2 separate regions of the Homo sapiens genome follow, and region 1 is linked to region 2. Evidence: promoter capture Hi-C in 16 types of primary human blood cells and fetal thymus (Javierre and others, 2016). All regions are on one chromosome and are shown on one strand. Each heading gives the region's core, a stretch centred on a gene start or on the middle of the fragment in contact. The rest is flanking DNA. Distances are from core to core; before and after follow the strand shown. Region 1 overlaps ATP8B3 (ATPase phospholipid transporting 8B3). Region 2 holds the start of APC2 (APC regulator of Wnt signaling pathway 2).

Region 1 (6,284 bases), core at 3,030-5,529, 340 kb before region 2:
CACTTCAGCTTCCCAAGTAGCCGGGACTACAGGAGAGTGCCACCTTACCCAGCTTATTTTTGTATTTTTTGTCAAGACAGGGAATCCCTATGTTGCCCAGGCTGGTCTTGAACTCCTGGGCTTAAGCGATCCGCCTGCCTCCGCTTTTCAAAGCACTGGAATTACAGATGTGAGCCACCACACCCGGCCACTGCTCTTCTTTTGACTTTCACAAGCCTTTATTTGTGGATGCTGAAATTCGAATTGCTGAGTATTTCTCAGATCACAAAATAAAATAGTTTTGTTTGTTTGTTTGTTTTTTGTTTTTTTTTTGAGACAGAGTCTCGCTCTGTCGCCCAGGCTGGAGTGCAGTGGCGCGATCTCGGCTCACTGCAAGCTCCACTTCCCGGGTTCACGCCATTCTCCTGCCTCAGCCTCCCAAGTAGCTGGGACTACAGGCGCCCGCCACCACGCCCGGCTAATTTTTTGTATTTTTAATAGAGACAGGGTTTCACCGTGTTAGCCAGGATGGTCTCGATCTCCTGACCTCGTGATCTGCCTGCCTCAGCCTCCCAAAGTGCTGGGATTACAGGCGTGAGCCACCGCGCCCGGCCACAAAACAGTATTAGTATTATTCTAGTCATTTTTTTTCCTGACCATTAAAAATCCAAAAACAATTCTTAGCTCGCAGGCCGTACAAAAATTGATGATGTGGTGGGGTGTAGTTTGACAGCCCCGGGTCTAATTTATAACCAGGGCACGTGGTTTGGACTGGGTCATAATTTAGTGTAGTGAGAAGTCCCCAAGAAATGGTTCAAGTTCAGCTATAGAAAAATGGGCCCGAGGTTGAGGCGGGTGGATCACCTGAGGTCAGGAGTTCGAGAGCAGCCTGGCCAACATGACAAAACCCCGTCTCTACTAAAAATACAAAAATTAGCCAGGCATGGTGGCAGGCACCTGTAGTCCCAGCTACTCAGGAGGCTGAGGCAGGAGAACTGCTTGAACCCGGAGGTGGAGGTTGCAGTGAGCCAAGGTCACGCCACTGCACTCCAGCAGCCTGGGTGATAGAGAGAGACTCCATCACACACACACACAAAAGACACCACAAAGGGGTGGCATGCACCTGTTGCCCCAGCAACTTGGAAGGCTGAAGAGGGAAGATGTCTTGAGCCCGGGAGGTTGAGGCTGCAGTGAGCTATGATCGCACCACTGCACTGCAGCCTGGGCCACAGAGTAGGACCCCATTTCTAAGAACAATAAAGCATAAAAAGTGGCTGGGTGCGGTGGCTACGCCTGTAATCCCAGCACTTTGGGAGGCTGAGGCGGGCGGATCACTGGAGGTCAGGAGTTTGAGACCAGCCTGGCCAACATGGTGAAACCCCATCTCTACTAAAAATACAAAAATGAGCCAGGCGTGGTGACATGAGCTTGTAATCCCAGCTACTCGGGAGGCTGAGACAGGAGAGTCACTTGAACCCAGGAGGCTGAGGTTGCAGTGAGCTGAGCTTGTGCCACTGCACTCCAGTCTGGGCGACAGAGCAGGACTCTGTCTCAAAAATAAATAAATAAATAAATAAATAAATAAATAAATAAATAAATAAAAATAAAAAAGAACAAAAACCCCAGGAGGAGGAAACAAAGTGTGTCCCACGGATGGGGCTGCATCCCGCTCCAGGCTGTCCTTTTGGGGTCCCTGGGAGACAGGAAGGGGCCACATCCCGCTCCAGGCTGTCCTTTTGGGGTCCCTAGCCCGCATCCCGCTCCAGGCTGTCCTTTTGGGGTCCCTGGGAGACGGGACGGGGCCGCATCCGGCTCCAGGCTGTCCTTTTGGGGTCCCTGGGAGACAGGATGGGTGTGCTCCCCTCTTCCCCGCTTTCTGCAGGTGGTGGAAACTGAGGTCAGCTTTCGCCCCAAGATTGCTCGGGGTGTCGGTTCCAGGGCCACAGGCCTGGCTTGTGTGGCTGCACCAGTGGCCCCCGGAAGCCTGAAACTAGGGGTCAGGGGCTATGGGATCCCGAATGGGGGGCCTGTGGGAGCTGAAGCAGGAAGCTGTGTCTTTCCCCAGGGCCGGATTCAGAGGCCACGACCCGACCTAAGGTGAGCCTGCCTGGCTTGCAGCGCGGGACGGTGAGGGGGACGGGGCACGGGGAGCGGCCCACCCACAGCCGGCCCGTGCCCCCGCCACCCCCAGGAGAACCCCTACCTCTGGAACAAGTTCGCCGACGGGAAGCTGCTCTTCCACAATGCGGCCCTGCTGCACCTCGTGCGGACCAACGGGGACGAGGCCGTGCGGGAGTTCTGGCGCCTGCTGGCCATCTGCCACACGGTGATGGTGCGGGAGAGCCCCCGTGAGCGCCCAGGTGCGCCCACCCACCTCCCCATCTCTGAGGCCGCTCAGCCCCCGGGGCACGGCAGTGTCCCCAGCCCCGCAGCTCACCCGGCCCATCTTCCAGGGCTTTCAGCTGGCTTGGGGGGCGCTGAGGCCGGTGTGACACCAGCCGCACCTCGAGGGCGTCCGGGCCTGGAGCCCAGACAGTGCTGACAAGCATCGTGGCGGGAGGGCGGACGTGTCATCGTCAGGGCTAAAGGATGTCCAGGCCTGCGGTCGGAGCCCGAGGATCTGTTGTTGAGCGGGAAGGTCGTCTAGTCTCAAGTGCTCACCTCCATGCATTGGGTTGTACAGGCGGGGGTCCCCGGCCACCATCAATAAAGGTGTAGCCCAGGCGATACCCATCTCCTCCCTGCACTGTGGAGATGGAGACGGGCTCCACCACGTGACCCCAAAATGGCCCCCCTCCCTACCAGACCAGCTGTTGTACCAGGCGGCCTCCCCCGACGAGGGGGCGCTGGTCACCGCAGCCCGGAACTTCGGCTACGTGTTCCTGTCCCGCACCCAGGACACCGTCACGATCATGGAGCTGGGGGAGGAACGGGTCTACCAGGTCCTGGCCATAATGGACTTCAACAGCACGCGCAAACGGATGTCGGTGCTGGGTGAGCCCCGCCACCCAAGCCCTGGGCCCCCCAAGGTGGGGCGGGCAGACGGGGAGCCTCTGTGGGCAGCAGGGCCTGTTCCCCCACAGTTCGAAAGCCAGAGGGCGCCATCTGCCTGTACACCAAGGGCGCCGACACGGTCATCTTCGAACGCTTGCACAGGAGGGGGGCAATGGAATTTGCCACAGAGGAGGCCTTGGCTGTGAGTCCCTTCAGGAAGGCTGGCTTATGTGTGTGTGTGTGTGTGTGTGTGTGTGTGTGTGTGTGTGTGTGTGTGTGTGTGTGTGTGTGTAGGGACAGGAGGAGGAGGAGGCAGGGGAGGAGACTGTACGGAGAAATGGAAGGCTGCAGGTACCTGGGATGGCTATGTACAGTGAGGTATGTTGTGCACTGTACAAAACACCCTCCCCCGGCAACACACAAAACACACACACACCGGCTGGGAGGCAGCTGAACTCCCAAGTGTAGCCCCCAGAGAGAGAGCGTCTTTTTCTTTTTCTTGTCTTGTCTTTCTTTTCTTTTCTTTGAGACAGAGTCTTGCTCTGTCGCCCAGGCTGGAGTGCAGTGGCACAGTCTTGGCTCGCTGCAACCTCCGCCTCCCGGGTTCAAGTGATTCTCCTGCCTCAGCCTCCCGAGGAGCTGGAATTACAGGCACACGCCAGTGCACCCAGCTAATTTTAATATTTTTAGTAGAGATGGGTTTTCGCCATGTGGGCCAGGCTGGTCTTGAACTCCTGACCTCAGGTGATCTGCCCCCTTGGCCTCCCAAAGTGCTGGGATTACAGACATGAGCCATCGCGCCCAGCCTGCCTTTTCTTTTTTGAGAGGGAGTCTTGCACTGTTGCCCAGGCTGGAGTGCAATGGTGCAATCTTGAGTCACTGCAACCTCTGCCTCCCAGGCTTAAGCTATCCTCCTGCCTCAGCCTCCTGAGTAGCTGAGACTACAGGCGCCCGCCACCACGCCCGGCCAATTTTGTATTTTTAGTAGAGATGGGGTTTCACCATGTTGCCAGGCTGGTCTCCAACTCGTGACCTCAGGTGATCCACCCGCCTCGCCCTCTCAAAGTGCTGGGATTACAGGCGTAGGCCACCGCGCCCGGCCAAGGGTGTATTTTTCTCATTTGCACAAGACGACCGTGCGGTTGAGCTGGCCCAGCTGCCAGGACACACTCAGCTCCGTCTGCTCCAAAGCTTCCCACTCTGTGGGGGAAGCCCGAACTCCTCGGCCCAGGATTTGAGGCTTTTTCTGTCCCCTGCTGACCTCTCCAGCCTGGTCTCTCTTTGGCCTCACCAAGGGACTCCCTAGGACCCAGTTTCTGGCTTGTGACTTCCCCACTCTCAGGTGCTGCCTTGGCACCTTTGCACATGCTGTTTCCTGTGCTGGGAGGGTCTTCCCTGCACCTTTGTCATTCAGAAGCTTTCGGTGTCCTCATGACTCAGCCACAAGCTCCCCACACATGGGGCCTTTCCTGCCCCACCCCCTGCCAACATGGGGCTGTCATCACCCCAGGCTGCCTCCCCCTGGTCCAGCCCTGACCCTACAGGGCCAGAGGATTCTGCGTCCAGCCTGGGGGCTCCTCACAGGTTCTGCTGGGGCCCCAGCAGCATGGAGCACAGGGCAGCGGGGTGTGTGTGGGAAGATGTCCTGTGTCCCCTGCTCTGCCAGGATGTGGGGGCACTCTGAACTGGAAGTGCGGTCACAATAATGACCTAGAGCCCAGGAGCTCAGCAGGTCAGCTTAGCTCAGCCACCCCAGGGAATGGATGGGTAAATTGAGGCCGGAAGAAGGGTCAAGGCCTGTCGGAGGCTGCCAATGTCCGTGAAGCTCCTCTGCTGTGTCAAGCCCAAGCTCTTGGACCCGTGCCCCATCAACAACAAAAGGGAAATCAGACATGGTGGCGCGTGCCTGTGGTCCCAGCACTTTGGGAGCCTGAGGCAGGAGGATCGCTTGAGTGCAGGAGGTGGAGGCTACAGCAAGCTGTGATCGCACCACTGCACTCCAGCCTGGGCGACAGGGCGAGACCCCTGTCTCTTAATAAACAGGCTGGCGCGATGGCTCACGCCTGTAATCCCAGTGCTTTGGGAGGCGGGCAGATCATTTGAGGTCAGGAGTTCGAGGCCAGCCTGACCAACCTGGTGAAACCCTGTCTCTACTAAAACTACAAAATCAGCCAGATGTGGTGGTGCAGGCCTGTAGTCTCAGCTACTCGGGAGGCTGAGGCAGGAGAATCGCTTGAACCCGGGAGGCAGAGCTTGCAGTGAGCCAAGATCGCGCCACTACACTCCAGCCTGGGCAACAGAGTGAGACTCCATCTCAAAAAATAAATAAATAAAAATAAATAAATAAACAAATTTGAGACCTAAGGCCACCCCTTGGAGCACAAAGCTGGGGGCAGGGTCGGGGGGTAAGAAGCCGTAAGGGCACCTTCCTTGGGGACCCCCCGACCACCCTTGGGGTGCCTGCTCTCTGGGCCTGCCCAGTTTCCTCCCAGCCCCTAGAGGCCCCAACCCTGGGTCTGGCCCTTGAGAAATGAGGGGCCCAAGGAAGGGGCTCAGAGAGCCAAAGTTGAGGGGTCAGAGGGAGGGGCCTGGGACTGGGGGAGCCCCAGCTGGGGAAGGCACCGGGTGGGTGGACTGCATAGAAGGTCTTGAGTGATAGTCAGAATTCGCCATGCAGGCCAGGTGTGGTGGCTTCTGCCTGTAATCTCAGCGTTTTGAGGCTCAGGTGTGCAGCTTGCTTGAGCTCTGGAGTTCGAGACCAGCCCAGGCAACATGGTGAAACCACCTCTATTTAAAAAATATATATATATACAAAGAAATTAGCCGGGTGTGATGGCATGTGCCTATGATCCCAGCTATTTGGAAGGTAGAGACAGGAGAATCACTTGAGCCCAGGAGTTCGAGGCTGCAGTGAGCTATGATTGGGCCACTGCACTCCAGCCTGGGTGACAAAGTGAGACCCTATCCCCCACCCCCGAGAAAAAAAAAAAAAAAGAATTTGCTGTGCAAAGCATAGGGAAGGTGTTCCTGGCAGGGAAACAGTCCTCCAAGAAGGTCTGGAGGCAAAAGAGAGCTGAGGGTCTGGGGGTGGGAGCAGGTGTCTGAGACAGAGTAGGTGGGGAGCAGGGGCAGCTCAGTTTTCTTTTCTTTTTTTTTTTTTTTGAAACAGAATCTTGCTCTGATACTCAGGCTGGAGTGCGATAGGGCGATCTCAGCTCACTGCAACCTCGGCCTCCCAGGTTCGAGGGATCCTCCCACCTCAGCCTCCTGAGTAGCTGGGATTCCAGGCATGCGCCACCACACCTGGCTAA
Region 2 (6,558 bases), core at 1-2,500:
GGTCACCATCCCATGCCCAGCCAGGTGGAAGGACCAGATGACGTGCAAAGCAACACATGTCTGCCTCCTGCTCCCCAAACCCAGGCCTCCCCCACGTGGTTCTTCTCAGCTGACCGAAGCCAAGCCTCAGACACCTTCCCTCTCCCCACATTCGGTGGTCATTTCTGCATCCTCATCAGACTAAGCTAGTCCCTCCAAGCTCTGCCCAGCGGGATCATGCCTCCCCCAGCTCCTGACACCCCTCTGTGAGGACATTCTGATCAGCCTCTTCCTGGCCTCCCACAGTCCCCCATGCACAGCCAGAGGGAGCTTTAAACGTCACAAGTGAGATCCCATTTCTCCCATGCTCAAACACCTTCCATGGCTCCCCAGTGCCCTCAGGATACGCTCCGACTCCTCCATGTACACCGCGACTCACTTAGAGGCTGGAGGCTCTCTTCTCTCAGGCCTTTGCACGTGCAGTTGCCCTGCCTAGAGCACCTTTTCTAAGTCCTGCCATCCCACACAGTGCAGCTTCTTCCACGAAGCTCTTCTGCCTACTTTCACCCCCAGGTTGCATCGTGTAGCCTCCTGGGGGCCTTCCTGAGCGATCACTCCCTGAAGGCACCATGACTGGGGGCTGGTCTTATTGAGCGGGCTGCATTTCAGGGGAGGGAGGCACAGGTATGGGAAGCCAGGCCCAAAGGGGCCTTTCTCCTTCCTTTAATCCAAACCCCCTCTTTCCAGAGAGGGAAACTGACACCCAGAGAGGTGCAGCAACACCCCCGAAGACACACCACTGGCCTGCCCATCCCTTCCTCCGATCACCTCAGGGAGGTCCGGATGGTGAAGCCCGTGAGTGGGTGTGTGCGCAGGACCGGCTGCAGAAACGCTGACGCCCAGCTCACCGGGACTCAGTTTCCCCTCCAGCTCCCACTCTGGGGAAATGGAGGGTCCAGAGTCTGTGCTGACGGGCAATGCTGAGAGCCAGGGATGGAAACCTCGACGCGAGGCGGAGGTCGCGCCCCTGCCCTCCTCCCCGAGGACACACACCCGCTTACGTGCAGCTGGGCTGGCGGGGCGCCTGGGTCTGGGGCCTCCTCCCTCTGCGCGGCTCCGCGGGCCCCACCGGAAATCCCGGCCCGGGGTGGCCTCGGAGCGCGCGGGCTCCGGGGTCTCCGCGGCGCGGGCAGGGGCTCCGGGGCGGACAAAGCCCGGTCCGGGCCTGGGCAGGCGGCGCTGCCGCTCCTAGCGCTGGGCGAGACCACCGCGAGCGGGGGAGGATGCGGGATGAGGGATGCGGGTGAGACAGCCAATGAGGGCGCGGGAAGACGGGCTGGTGCCATGGCAACAGCCAATGGCGGCCCGGGGCGGGGACCGGCGTCGGCCGCGGGGCGTCGGGCCTCCGCGCGGGCTCAGGGGCCGTGAGTGCGGGGGGCGAAACCCCCCCGAGGGAAGGGGGTGCCCCGAGGACCAAGATTCCTGTGTCCCGCACTTTATTGCAGGGTGCAACGGCCTCTTAAAACCTCCTGCGTCTGGATTTGCAGAATTGGAGAGTAAAACATCAAATCCTGGATGTTACATCAGCATCTTGGCGGGGGAGGGGTTTCCAGGGCAGTGGCCGGGCTGGGGCCAGGCCTGCACCCACCCCACAGGTCCAGCCTGGCCTGGTGCAGGTGCGTCAGGGTGGGACAGGGTTCGGGTCCAGGCTGGAGCTCCCTGAGGGTCCTGCCTGGTGGGGAGGGGAGAGGGGAGGAGGGGCAGGGCCACTGGGGAGCACCTGGGACGCTGCATCTCCCCACATTTCTCCCTGTCTCCCCAACGGAGCGTCAGATCCTCCTGTAACTCCGTTGCTCTTCATGTCCCTCTCTCTTTCTGTCTCCCCCTCTGTTCTCTGTCTCTCAATCTCTGTCTCCATGTGTCTCTGCCCCTGGTGGGTGGCACACTTAATTCACCCTCACGGACCGAAGGCCAGAGGAGGGAAGGGCCAGGGGTCCCAGGAGTCGCCATCTCCAGGTGTCCTGGATGCTCCATGAGTCCCTGGAAGCCATTTGAAGGTTTAACACACAGAGCCCGTCCCTGCAGCTCGGAGCAGCCCTTCCTGCTCTGGACACAGACTCACAGCACAGAAAGGGAGGCGACTGGGGCCAGAAGAGTGATTTTTTTCCGTGCTGGGCAGGCAGGGCAAATCATTCGCCGCTCAACCCTCGGTTTCCTCCTCTGTAAAATGGAGAGGAGGCGGAAGATTCTGCAAGGGCTGGTGCAGGGAATGATAGGAGAGGGTGGGAAGGTCCGAGTATTCAAGGCCCCGTAGACAAAGGCAAGGGAGGACCCGTGCTGTTTCCTGTTGGGCCTTGAGCTGAAGACCCGAGGGCCTTGTCCCGGGCCAGCACTGCCAGGGGCTGAGAGCCCTTCGGCCTGGCTGTCTGGGAGCCCCCAGAGCTGGACGCAGCTGTCCCCACTGGTTGGGTCTGGGGAGGCAATGCAGTGGGCAGACACAGGGGATCTTTTCTTTTTTCTTTTTCTTTTTTTTCTTTTTTTTTTTTTTGAGACGGAGTCTTGCTCTGTAGCCCAGGCTGGAGTGCAGTGGCACGTTCTCGGCTCACTGCAAGCTCCGCCTCCCAGGTTCACGCCATTCTCCTGCCTCAGCCTCCCGAGTAGCTGGGACTACAGGCGCCCGCCACCACGCCCAGGCTAATTTTTTGTATTTTTTAGTAGAGACGGGATTTCACGTTAGCCAGGATGGTCTCGATCTCCTGACCTCGTGATCCACCCGCCTCGGCCTCCCAAAGTGCTGGGATTACAGGCGTGAACCACCACGCCCGGCCTTTTTTTTTTTTTTTTTTTAGATGGGGTCTTGCTCTGTCCCCCAGGCTGCAGTGCAGTGGCGCCATCTCGGCTCACCGCAACCTCCGCCTCCTGGGTTCAAGTGATTCTCCTGCCTCAGACTCCTCAGTAACTGGGATTACAGGCATGTACCACCTTGCCAGCTAATTTTTGTATTTTTAATAGAGAGGGGGTTTCACCGTGTTGGTCGGGCTGGTCTCAAACTCCTGACCTCATGATCCGCCCGCCTCGAAGGGGATTTTTTTCTGGAGGCTGGAAGGCTGCCCTGAGAAGTGAACAGCAGTGATCAGGAGGAGAGGCGTTCCAGGCTGAGGGAAGATCAATGCATGCTTGGGACACAGGGGGTGTCTGGTGGAGCCATGGGGTAGGGCGCGTGGTGGGGTTTGACAGGTCAAGCCGGGGCAGAGCTGGGCGAGGCTGAAATGGGGTTGGGGATGCAGAGCCCAGGGCCCTGGCTTCAGCTCAGCCTTGTTGTCCCTGTGTCCCCCTGGGCATGTCTCTCTCTGGCCTCGGTTTCCAGTCTTGTTTACTGAAGGGTGGGTTGGATGATCCCTGCCTCCCCCAAAGAGGAACTAAGTCCCACCTCCCTGTGTAGTTTCAGATGTCTCAGCTCCCCAGGCCCCCATCAGGCAGGGGTTTGGGGGATCCAAGGTCAGTCCTGTCCTTGTATACATGGGGAAACTGAGGCCTGGGCCAGGGAACGTGTTGCCTGAGTTCACCTGTGCCAGCCAGGCCTCCGGAGTGACACTGAACCTCCCTTCTTATCCCTCTGGGGGTGGCCAGGGCCTGGAGGGCTGAGGGTACATGGGGGCTGAGACCCCAAGACAAGATGCCCTTGGCCCCAAATCTACAAAACATTATGTCCCTGAACAATCCCCCCCCACACACTAAAATCCTCGACCCTGTAAATCCTTGAACCACAGCCACACTCAGACATCACCAGACATTTCAGAGCCTCAAGAACCCCCCACAGCCCCCTAGGACTTCAGGAGACTGAGAGAGGTCTCCCCCTTCTCCCACTGCAGAACGCAGGGCCTAGCCCAAGACCCCGACCTAGGCTCCTCCCTGGGGTCCTCCACGCCCCCTACTGCTGCTGGGCTAAAGGGGAAGTTCCATGAAATGCTCACTCCCCCACCCCTGTCCTGTGACACCTCCCCGCAAGTCCGCAGCCTGGCACACGGCTCACTCTTGGAGTGTCTTTGAGCCTTCTGAGTCTGACCTCGAGCTGTCCCCGCCCCCTTGATGCCTCCTCTGTGCCAGGGGCTAGAGGCAGAAACAGGGGCGGCCCCCATCGGGAGCTGGGTGGGGACAGAGAAGGCACCAGGTCATCGCGGGAGGATAGAGACGGCCCGCCGCCGGCTGGGTGGCCGGGCAGAGCCCTGACCGGTGAGGAGGCCACCGGAGGTGGGGGAGGGTGGGGTAGGCCGGTCCAGGCCGCGCCCTGAAGCCTGACCGCCGCTATGGGCCTCAGTTTCCCCGGCGGCGAGTCGGCAGACGTGCGCCTCCGTCAGCACCGCGGACAGCTCCCCGGCCCCCGCCCCGCGTTCTCTTGCGGGCGCCTTAGCTCCGCAACGAGGCTCCGGCCTCGAAGCGTGACCTTGGGCTCCCCGCTGCACCCCCCAGCCTCAGTTTCCCCTCCAATGAGGGATGTCACAGCCGCGAAATTCAGACGATTCCGGAGGCTGGAGAAGCGCTGGGGTCGGGAGCGGACGGATACGAACAGCAGCGGCGGCGAACGTCAAAGCAGGCCATACGCTCGCGCCCAGAAGGGGAAACTGAGGCCCAAAGAAGCGCAGGGCGTGGCCCAGGCCCCCACCCTGCGCAGGGCCGAGCCTCCGCAGGATGCCCCCGCAGCCGCCCCCGCCGCCCCAGCTGGCGCAGCCTCCGCGTCGGCGCAGTGAGGAGGGGTCCGAGGGTCTCCTGCAGAGGCCGAGGGCTGGGCTGGGCGAGCCCTGCGCTTGCGCAGACCCGGGGCTGGGGGTCGCAGCGGCGCACGAGAGGGGCTTCCATCCCCGCCAGCCTTCCGAGGCGGTTTCCCGGCAACGGTCTCTACGGCGACGGCACTAGACCCCCGACTCTGCAGCCTCCGCGCGCTCGCCCCATGCGCCCCCCGCCGCCGCGCCCGCTGTTCCCGCGGTGTGGACCCCGCCCCGTTCCTGCGCGGCCCGGAGCCCTCCCCAACGGCTCGACCCACGCGCCCTACCTGGTCCCCGAAGAAGGCCGAGTGCAGCAGGCTCAGGAGCCCCAGGAGCCCCATGGAGCCGCGGCCGCCCCGGACCCGCCGCGCCCCGCCCCTCGGCGGCCAGGGTGGGGGTGCGGGACGCGAACGGGGCCGCCCTGCGCCTGCGCGGAGAGGGGCGGGAGGGGTCAGTCCGCGGGCCCGGGGCGGGGCTCCTCCCGAAAGGGGCGAGGGCGTACCGTGGGGTCTGGGGGTGCTCGCGGGGGCTGGGGAGTCTCGCGGGACCGAGGCTGCGGAGGGGCGGTGGGAGATCCAAGGATGGGAGAGAGGGGAGGGGACTCGCGTGGGCCGAGCGGCGCCAGGGTCCGGGTCCGACCACGCTGGGGAGTTCGAATGCGGAGGAGGCTGGGGGGGCCCGAGGCGGCGGGGAGGAGGCCGGGTGGGGGTGGGGGCACGAGAGGTCCCACGGGGAATGGGGGTCGCGGGGGGCCAGAGGCGGCGTCGCCATGCGGCTGTGGTCCGCTGCCCGCGGACGGTCACCCTGCGGAAGCTCGGAACCACCCCCGAATCAGCCCGGCTTGGCGCGCTGAGGTTCATTAGTCATTCAGCAAACATCACCTGCGCGCACAAGGCTTGCTGGGCGCCGAGCTGGGCGCGCGGGGGGCCGCCGTAAGGGGGCGACACCGAACGCGGACATTCATGCAACAAGCATTTATAAAGCACCTACTGTGTGCTGGGTCCCCCTGCACTGAACAAAACAAAATCCAGGCCCTTGGGAAGCTGACGTGAACGAGGGGACTGCAGCGGGCTGGGAGAGACGCCAGCGCGGCGGGCAGGGCATGGGGAGCTGCTGGGGAGGCCGAACAGCCCTGGGGAGTGTTGGGGGAGAGTGCAGCCCGCGAGGGCAGTGAGGGCTGGGAGGCCCCGGGGGGCAGGTCGCGCAGGCCCAGCGGGAGGTGGGAGCCACCGCGGGCTGTGGACAGAGCAGGGCCGCGCCCGGCTCCAGGCTCGCGGGCGCCCGCTGGCGGCTGCGGGGAGAACAGGCCGTGGGCGGTGCCGGGAGAGGAGGGCGGAGGCGGCTGCGCGGGTCGAGGGCCGGATGATCGGGCGGAAGATGCGGCCCGGGCAGGATGGGGGCTAAGAGGGGTGTTATGAATTGTGCAAAGTCCCTGGAAACCAAAGAACGAGCGGCCGGAGAAAGGGGCGCCGCTTTAGCAGGGCGGCGGGGACAGGCCGCCTCCAGCAGGTGCCTCAGCTGAACCCTGGAGCGGGGACGGAGCCGTGCGGCTGCCGGGGAGGCTTCGGGGCCACCCAGGACTCCTCCTTCAGAAGTCAGGGGAGGGCGCCGAGTTCAGTGTAAACTGCCGTCCAGGGGGGAGGCCGCGGGGATGTGAGAAGCGCCGGGAACCAGGACAGGGCCTGAAGGCAGCTGACCCGCAAGCGCCGGGGCCAGACCTGAACCTGATGAGGACGGAGCTGTCTGTCTGAGACGGCACAGATGGGGCCGGGCAGGTCTGGGAGAGTCCATGCAGATTCTGGAGCGGGGTGTGGGA

Evidence for each region. Contacts are between HindIII fragments. The CHiCAGO score rates a contact against its expected background, and 5 or more counts as called.
Region 1: a fragment that was not itself captured here is called in contact with the fragment with the promoter of APC2 in region 2 in 1 of 17 cell types (naive B cells); the score reaches 5.2 in naive B cells.

Annotation. Positions count from the first base shown.
Region 1 is chr19:1,792,766-1,799,049 of GRCh38, reverse strand. It overlaps ATP8B3 (ATPase phospholipid transporting 8B3), which reads left to right. Exons shown (of 29, transcript NM_138813.4): 15 at 2,045-2,076; 16 at 2,171-2,339; 17 at 2,785-2,973; 18 at 3,063-3,175. Among named protein-coding and RNA genes, the nearest start is that of ATP8B3, 16 kb to the left of the region's middle. RefSeq lists enhancers at 1,816-2,627, 2,926-3,220, 2,628-3,440 and a silencer at 2,926-3,220. The HindIII fragment of the contact is 226 bases long and covers 4,167-4,392 here.
Region 2 is chr19:1,444,813-1,451,370 of GRCh38, reverse strand. APC2 (APC regulator of Wnt signaling pathway 2) reads right to left here and starts at 1,250. Exons shown (of 15, transcript NM_005883.3): 1 at 1,033-1,250. RefSeq lists silencers at 1,204-1,403, 4,147-4,441, 5,091-5,140, 5,601-5,700, 5,751-6,140. The HindIII fragment of the contact is 28,474 bases long and covers 1-6,558 here.